2 separate regions of the Homo sapiens genome follow, and region 2 is linked to region 1. The links are contacts of gene promoters, found by promoter capture Hi-C in blood cells and fetal thymus (Javierre and others, 2016). All regions are on one chromosome and are shown on one strand. Each heading gives the region's core, a stretch centred on a gene start or on the middle of the fragment in contact. The rest is flanking DNA. Distances are from core to core; before and after follow the strand shown.

Region 1 (4,505 bases), core at 1,565-4,064:
CTTAAACACTAACAGACAGCTCAGCCCAACATGGGGCTCTATTCACAGGCTGGGGAAGGCTTTTATAAATGGAGGCACATCAGCTTTAGACCAGCTGGAAAAGGCACCATTAGTCACTGTAGTAAATAAACACTGAAGTCATTTCCCTATTGACACCCAGATGCAGGAATCACATCTAAGAATGGATTCAAGCAGCACCAGTCTGACAAGGGTCTCACATGCGTGTTCCTTCCAAACAGAAAATGGGGTTGGGAAAGAGGGCAGTTGTAGACCAGGTCCCTCTGAGGAGAGCGTGTGGGTGGAATCATGTATAAGTAAAGTTTTAAATAAACAGAATGCATCACTATGGAAACATTCAGCTTTACCAAAGCCACCATTAAAAAAAATAATCAAGACTTAAGATTCAACACTACAAGTGTTTATGACCAGAAAAGGCAAAGTGGGTCTTAGATATTCTGCAGCCAAGTAATAGCTGCCAGAACTCAAAGAAGAAATATTCCCAGCAGGGCAGGAACCCGTCGTTTGTCAAGACTTTCTCTGAAACCCTCCAACTGGAGCATTCAGCGCACTGCAGGGCCTACTTAACTCTTTCAGCATTGCAATGACACAATTCAGGAGACGGCTCTATAGTGACTGTGTCCAGACAGACCTGCCACGCACTAGGGCAGGATCACATCAGCCACAGAGGCAGAGAGTGGGTGCCACAAGGAAAGGGCAGGTTTATTAGCTGTGACTCAAACTTATCAGGAATTGTCAATGCCACCCGAGCTAGTGGGTTAATGATGGATCAATGTGGATCCTGATTTCAACACTGGGGATGCAATCTGGTGCTAAGTGTGTGTTCCAACCCATGTTTGAAGCAAGTTGCCTGTTATAAAGAAGACATTTTTAGTGTGGAGCCTGATGTTTCTTTGGGCTGCTGACTGGAGTAATGGTGTTGGTAAGTATTGTGAAAAAGCCTGCTATGAGTTTGGGTGTCATTCAGGGTCCCCAAGTGTATTCACAGGTAAGAATGAGGTGAGAAAGGACCACCGGGGAAAACTTATCTGTCTCTAAAAGTTTCATATCTCTGAAGGTGGATATGGTCAGGAAACACTTGCCAGAAAATCAAGGAAAGTTGGCTGAGAATTTGTCTAACTCACCAGAAGTTGGATTCTGTCCCCTCAAAAGGAGCTTCCCCAATGAAATGGGCAACTGCTAGTCCAGTCACCAGCAGTTTCTGGCTAGAGGATGCTGATGCTGATTAAGGAAAGATGAGATGCAGATGCCTGCCCTGATGAACAGGAAAGTCAGGGAACAAACAGGTGGCCTGTGGTCAGCTGTGACCAGCTCCACAGGAGCCAGCCCTGAGGCTCAGGCTCCCGGGAGTGCTCAGCAGACCATTTCGCCTACATTCAGCATGGCAAAGGGAAACCAAACAGGCCGAGAAACTAGCCTGCAGTCTGCAATCTGGTTCTGCCACTACAAGCCCTGTTAACTTACCTAACGTCTTGGAGATCAGTTTCCTAGCCTCTACAATGGGAATAGGACCTCTCTCTTGCAGCGCTGTGGGAAGGATAAGGGATTATGTATAAAAGCTCCTAGGACAGTGCCTGCTGAAGCTCAGAAGAAGGGCAGCAAAAACAAAACCGAAACCTGTTTTTCTTCATGCTACCGCTGTTATATTTGCTTCCTCAGCTTTACACGCGATGTAAGCAAAAACAGCTTCACCTCTAATTCCTAGTTCAGATCTAGCACCAGCAAAACAAAGCAACAGGCTGCTGCAGTCACTGAGGCACACTGCCCTTTGCCATGGTCTGGAATTCCTGTCCATGCCTACACCCTGTAGTTTTACTCTATGGCAAGTACCTACTTGCCATTTCAGAAGGGACATTATCTTAATGGTAAAGAAAAGGGCAGTTCTGGCATGTGGTATCTGGAGTGACAGCAAGAAAAACAAAACTGAAGATTTGCTGCTCTCAGACCAAGAAACCCAGGTGGTGGCCCACTCCATCTGCTGTAGAGTAGAAATGTTTCCCTGGAAGACATGGGTGTGACAAGTGAAGAGATCAAATGCACAGCTGCCACACGGGGAGATCATGACCCTCCATTAAGAAAGAGGGACGCTGGAAGACTTGGAACCATCTGCCAGTTCTTTCATTAGTAAGGAATGGAAGATAAATTTCCTAGTGTCATGCATCAAACTGATCACCAAAGCTGGCTGTATCACCTGGCCAGGTATTATTTGCATTAATAGGAGAACAGCTAAGCATTGAAAAGAGGCTTTATTTTATTCCTATGGTGATTTGAACCTCCCTCACAGGAAAGCTTGGTGTGGTGCTCAAATTTTAGAAAGTATTTCATATTTCTTAGAGAAACAAGCCGTGCTCATTTTTTGTTTGTTTGTTTTTTGTTTTTTAAAAGGGCAGGGGGACTACAATGCCAGGAGCCAGAGAGCTTGTCAGAGAACAGCCTGGCCAGGCATGGTGCTCCATCTGAGTGCCGAGTCAGAGCATGCCCAGCCTTTGGCATTTTCCTATGATCATGGACAGCATCAATCTTACAGCCTGGAATGGAAACAGGATAAAAAGCAAGAAGGCACTGTACCTTTCCCCCACTGGCAGACAGAGAAACTCTAACTCTCCCGCCCTATTTTCATCCATTTAAATTCATTTCCTTTCTCTCAGGTTTTCTGTATCTTGGTTTGGAATGAATCTGGTACACGGCTCCTGAGTCAAGAGGTCAAGAAGACACGTGGTTTTATGATGCAACAATGGGCAGCCACTCTGTTTTGTTTTGGGAACCTCAGTGACATCACAGACTAACCCTTGTACCTTGGGACCTTGTATGTAAGAAAACATTGAGTCAGAAGAGAGCGTTAGTCATAGGGCTACTGAAACACAAGGTGACGAGAACTATTAGGCAATTGAGTGCATTCCCTGCAGGGCTGCTCCCACTTCTATCTGACTTGGGTCTAGATGACTCAAGTGATTCCCGAGGGGAAAATAATCTATGTGGAACAGCTGTCATGAGCAGGCCTTCTGCTGCTCTTCAGCCTCAATTTCAGCCTGCTACTTCCCGTGACATCATTCAGTGATTCCTCCCTTTAAGGGGACAGTTTTCTCTTGTATTACAGGTGACTACTTGAAGGTGGCTAGACGAGAGCATACTGCCACCACTCTTTATTTGGAGGCCTGTAACCTGTCTTGAGTGTGTTGCAGGAAGACTCAGTTACAGTGTTCCCTGAATATGTAGCTTTCCATTACAATAGTATGCAAGCCAAGATGAAACCACCTCTGTTTGGGTTTCAGCAGCTGTCTGCCTACGGAAGGCTCCAGAGTCCCTGACGCATATTTATATCTCCACTTCACTGAAGTCACAAGGAACAAACACGTGAGATTTTCTTTTCCCCAGAGGCACAAGTCCATTGATATTTCTTCAAATGAAGGCGGGGCGTGTGGGGGGCGGGGGAGGGCAGGAGGAAAACTGCTTAGAACAAAATCATCCATGAGCACTGCCACATAGATTTTAATTTGCCTAAAGATGATAGCGATTTTGAGCTGTGGTTAGGGATAACTGTTCCCACAGTAGACCTATTACCAACATGAGTTGCTGGCTTTCATTTAATAGGACTCCAAGCTGGCAAACAAACCCCACCATCTTCCCAACAGCCACATCATGAGATCTAGCAGCACCAGCCTCTTGAAGTGGCTTCTCAGTGGAAGGTTTGCTCCGTTTCAGTGAAGCTTCTCTCTCAAAGCTCTGACGTCACCAGGGTGCCCCTCGAGGGTCTGGATAGACTGTCCGAAAGGTCAGGTTCACTCTCGGTTCTCTAGAGTGGTATTCTTTGGGCACTCGATGCTAAATGGAAATACACATAACTCTGACATAAATACACACATACACACTTTTAGTTCAAAGCGACTTAAAACTTATTCATGAGAATGCAGAAATATTTCCATCTCATCCCCCTTAAATGAGTAGTAAGCTCTTTGAAGTCTTGTGGAGAAAGGTCCCTTCTTTGAAACAAATTTCCATCCCCAGCCCCACTGTGCTATGCCAGCACCTCTGAAGTGAGATATTTTCATCTTTTCTAATTGTTGCTGTTCCTCTCAGACACCTGCCATTTCCCAAATCTCATAAAACATATAAATGGATGAGACCAAAGAGAGGCATGAGATTCCATTCTTATGGTAAGTGTTTTGACATTAACATGTGCACCTTAGAAATGATCTGGCCTAAAAATGGCATGGCCTAGCTGCAGAGCTGTGTATTCCAATAAGATAGTCACTAGCTACCCTGAAGCTATTTAAATTTAAGTTAATTAAAATTAAATTAAAAACTCAGTTCTTTATAGCATGCAAGCCACATTTTAAGAAGTCAGTCATATGTGGCTAGTGACTACTACAATAGGCAGCACAGATACTGAACACTTTCATCATCACAGAAAGTTCTACCGGACACACTAGTGTCCACCTGGATTGTCAGTAGTAGCAAAACTCCTTGGAAAGAATGTCAGCTCATTC
Region 2 (4,509 bases), core at 1-2,500, 140 kb before region 1:
CCTTTCATCGCAGTTTGTCATTTCTGCCCCTTTCATTTGTAGGGGATTTTCTGTAGCCCTCATAGGTTCTTAGTTGGGGGAGACTCCTGTTACAAAAGACAAATTAACAAGAGAAAAACAGACAGAAATTTACTGACATGTGTATTTCATTTATACATGAGAAATCTGGAGGGAATGAGTCGTTCTGGAAGAGGTGACTTTGAATTCCAGTTTTTATAGCATCTTCAACAAAGAACAGTAATTTTTTTAAGTTACAAGACAAAGAAATAGGGCTTTGAGTCTCTCCAGGAGGCAACTTGTGAGAAGGCAAAAAAAAAAAAAAAAAAAAAAGACAAAGGCCAGTTAGTCAAGCTTGTTAATGTAAATTCCTCTGGTACCATCTCCAGGCCATAGGGGTCTAAAGTTGTCTTTGTTCTCCTAGGTAGACAGAGGGACAGGATACCTTTTGTCTTTGTAAACCTGTGTCCTACTTTTAGGCAAATAGGGCCAGGGTAGAGAGCTTTCCTGAATGTGCTGCTGCTTGTCTTTAGCACAATCCTTCATGTTTTGGGGAGGCATGTCCTGGTCTCCCACACGTGCCTGCAATATTTGTTGAACTCTGGCTAGGTGTGGCGGCCCACGCCTGTAATGCCAACACTTTGAGAGGACAAGGTGGGAGCATCCCTTGAACCCAGGAGTTTGAAACCAGCCTGGGCAACATAGAGAGACCGTGTCTCTACCAAAAAAAGGTTTTTATGTTTTTTTGTTTTTTTGAGACGGAGTCTCGCTCTGTCATCCAGGCTGGAGTGCAGTGGCACAATCTCTGCTCACTGCAACCTCCGCCTCCCGGGTTCAAGCAATTCTTTTGTCTCAGCCTCCCCAGTAGCTGGGACTACAGGCACGCACCACCACGCCTGGCTAATTTTTGTATTTTTAGTAGAGATGGAGTTTCACCATATTGTCCCGACTGGTCTTGAACTCCTGACCTCGTGATCTGCCCGCCTCGGCCTCCCAAGTGCTGGGATGGCAGGCGTGAGCCACTGCACTCAGCCAAAATGTTTTTGTAAATTAGCCAGACTTGATGACATGTGCCTGTGGTTTCAGCTACTTGGGAGGCTGAGGTGGGAGGATCACTTGAGCCCAGAAGGTAGAGGCTGCAGTGAATTTGATCGTGCCACTGCACTCCCACCTGGGTGTTTGCGAGACTCTATCTAAAAAAAAAAAAAAAAAAAAAAAAAAATTACATACACACACACACACACACACACACACACACACACACATATAATTTCAAAAGTATTTTTCAAACTCTGCCCTAAGCTCTACATATTCTGGCAATGGGTACAGTGGGCACCCAGGTCCCAGGTAGAGCTGCAGTCTCTGAGGTGCCTTGAATGGGAAAGTCTTCTTTCCCCATGAAAGGAAATAAGCAGAATCTCTCAATACAGGTATGGCTGGGAAGACATGGCTGTCTTCTGGCCATTCCACTTCTTGTCTTCACTTTTGCCTTGCACTAGCTAACACTGTGACCTTGAGCAACTCTCATGACTTTTTTGGCCCTTACTGTTTTCTTCTGTAAGATAAGGAAGCGATTATTTTCCTCTATTTAAATCTTAATTCTATGTAATTCACATCTCAGTGAATGCCTGTTATGTGCCAGGTCTCTGTAAAATGCGAGGATACGGTGATGAGCAAGACAAACCAAAGCCTGCATGATTGATTGGGAAGGCCGACTTACAATGTGGGGACTATTTTAAAAAGACTATTTACTGGGTACCATGGAAACATGCAGCAGGGGGATTTAACCCCACGAAACAACAAACACAGGCACTTGTCCTAAGTGGAAGACATACACACACGTTACATTAAATGTGAATTGACTAAAGATCAATTAAAAGATCATCAGACTGGATAAAACAGCAAGAATCAAGCATATGGTGTGTGCAGGAGACACACTTTAAATACAAAAACAAATGGTCAAAGGTAAAAATGTGAAAAAAAACAAGCAAATAATAATCATGAAAAAAGCTGATGTGTTCATATTGGTATCTGATAGTAGGCTTCAAGACAAAAATAATTAACAAAAATAAAATGGGGCATTTTAGAATAAAATGATTAATTTATCAGGGTGACAATCTTAAAAGTTTATGCTCGTAATAACAAAGCTTCAAAATACATGAAGCAGAAACTGACAGAACGAAAAAGAGAAAAGACAAGTTCATAATAATTGGAAAATTTTATACCACTCTCTCGGTGATAGAACAAATGGATCAAAAGACACTAAGGATCAGAACTTTTGGACATTATACAAAAATTTAATCTAATTGACATTTATAGAACACCATCCCCAATACCACAGAATATACTTCTTTTCAAGTGCAAATGAAACATTAAGATAGACCACATGTTGTAAACAAATCTGGCCATAAACTGTCTTAATAAGTTTCAAAGGATTGAAACCATAGAGTACATTCTCTAGTCACAATGAAATTAAAGTAGAAATCATTAACAAAGAAAGCTGAACAGTCCCCAAATATTTGGAAACTAAGTTACATATGCTAAGCAAACCATTGATTTAAAAAAAGAAATCACAAGGGAAATTAGAAAATATTTTGAATGATTAAAAACCAGCAGATCAAAGTTTATGGAATGTAGCTAAAATAATGCTAAGTGAGAAATGAATAGCTTGTAATGCATATATTTGAAACCAACTTAAAACAAATGATCTAAGCTTCCACATTAATAAGCTAGAAAAAAGAGCAAATTAAACCCAAAGTAAATAGAAAGAAATAAAGATAAGAGCAGAAATGAAGGCGAAACGAGAAAAATCAATGAAACTGAAAGTTGGTTCTTTGAAAAGTTCAATACAGTTGATAAACAGTTAGATTGACTGATCAAAAAAACTCATTTTGTTGCAGAATTTTGCTCCTTAGTTCAGCTAAAACCGGGTTCTTGTCACACCACCAGGAAGGATTAGGAACATGGACACATTGAAGGGTGAGGGGAACGGAATTTACTGGGCAAAAAGGAAAAAAGAAAAATACTGTCAGCAGAGCAAGAGGGGGTCCTGCTAACAGGCCTCCAAACTCACATTGAATCCCAGGCCACCACACAGAAATTGAAGAGGCCAGGCTCCTCCCCGCTGAGCATGGCCACAGCTTCCCTTGGCTCCATCTTGTTCTCCCAGTGCACAGATGGGTTGGAGATTCTCCGGAGACCCTCCCCGTAATCCCCCTCCTGCATGTATCAATTTCAGTATCAGGAAAGGAAAAGGAGATACAACTAAAGATCCTAAATGTATTAAAAGGATAACAGAATATTTATAACCAATTTTAAGTCAATAATTAAACTTAGATGAAATAGACAAACTTTATTGAAAGGCACAAATAACCAAATCTGATACAAGAAATAGAAAACTCGAACTGTCACAGAAATTGAATTTATAAGTAAAAGCCGTCCCACAAAAAAAAAAAAAGAAGAAAAAAAAAACCTCCAGGCCCTTATGGTTTTACAGCTGAATTCAACCAAATATTTAAAGGTTGAAGAAGTTTTTGGACACAAACTTCTAGAAAATTCAGGAAGGAACAGTTTCCCAAACATCTATGAAACCAGTATTAATCATGATACTGAAACTAACAATGCATTACAAAAAAAAAAATTATAGAATGATGTCCTTCTTGAATGTAAACTTCTTAAAATAGCAAACCAAACTCAATGGTATATAAAAGGACAATGCATCATGACCAAATGGGGTTTATTGCAGCAATGTGAAGTTGCTTTAACATTAAGAAATCAATGTAACTTACTACATTGATAATCAAGAGAAAAATCATATCTCTATAAATGCAGATGAAAAACATCTAACAACATTGAACCCTCATACATGGTAAAACTCCCAGCAAACTAGTAATAGAAGGACTCTTTATTAGATAAGGGACAGAATGAAAAATACAGTAACGTTATACTCAAGAGCAGAAGATTGCACTCAATGCTACTAAGACTGAGAACAAGGCAGGCTGTCCTCTCAACCACTTTTATTCAACGTTATACTAGAGGTTTTTTAAAAAGAGCTATATCGGTCAGGAGCGGTGGCTCAGCTTGTAATCCCAGCACTTTGGGAGGCCGAGGCAGGCGGATCACTTGAGGTCAGGCGTTTGAGACAAGCCTGGCCAACATGGTAAAACCCTGTCTCTACTAAAGATATAAAAATTAGCTGGGCGAGGTGGCACGTGCCTGTAGTCCCAGCTGCTTGGGAGGCAGAGGCAGGAGAATCGCTGAACCAGCAGCAGAGGTTGCAGTGAGCCGAGATTGTGACACTGCACTCCAACCTGGGCGACAGAGTGAGACTCAGTCTCACAACAACAACAACAACAACAACAAAAACACACACATACACACACACACACAAGAAAACTGACAAGAATAAACAAATTTGGATTCGGAGCAAGTACGGCCACAAACCCAAGCGACTAAAGCCACCAGTTGGTACTGTGAGCTCTTTCTTCATCCATAAAATCGTAGTAGTCCCTT

The links. The method cuts DNA at HindIII sites, captures the fragments that hold promoters and counts their contacts. A CHiCAGO score of 5 or more calls a contact.
Region 2: a fragment that was not itself captured here is called in contact with the fragment with the promoter of ALKBH3-AS1 in region 1 in 1 of 17 cell types (endothelial precursors); the score reaches 5.2 in endothelial precursors.

What each region holds. Positions count from the first base shown.
Region 1 is chr11:43,919,253-43,923,757 of GRCh38, reverse strand. ALKBH3-AS1 (ALKBH3 antisense RNA 1) reads left to right here and starts at 2,814. Exons shown (of 6, transcript NR_038907.1): 1 at 2,814-2,884; 2 at 3,294-3,372; 3 at 4,096-4,172. It overlaps ALKBH3 (alkB homolog 3, alpha-ketoglutarate dependent dioxygenase), which reads right to left. Exons shown (of 10, transcript NM_139178.4): 10 at 3,484-3,840. The coding sequence ends at 3,748. It also overlaps a transcript of ACCSL not described here. RefSeq lists an enhancer at 2,333-3,532. The HindIII fragment of the contact is 1,418 bases long and covers 2,310-3,727 here.
Region 2 is chr11:44,061,318-44,065,826 of GRCh38, reverse strand. No RefSeq gene overlaps it. Among named protein-coding and RNA genes, the nearest start is that of ACCS, 2.7 kb to the left of the region's middle. The HindIII fragment of the contact is 1,793 bases long and covers 354-2,146 here.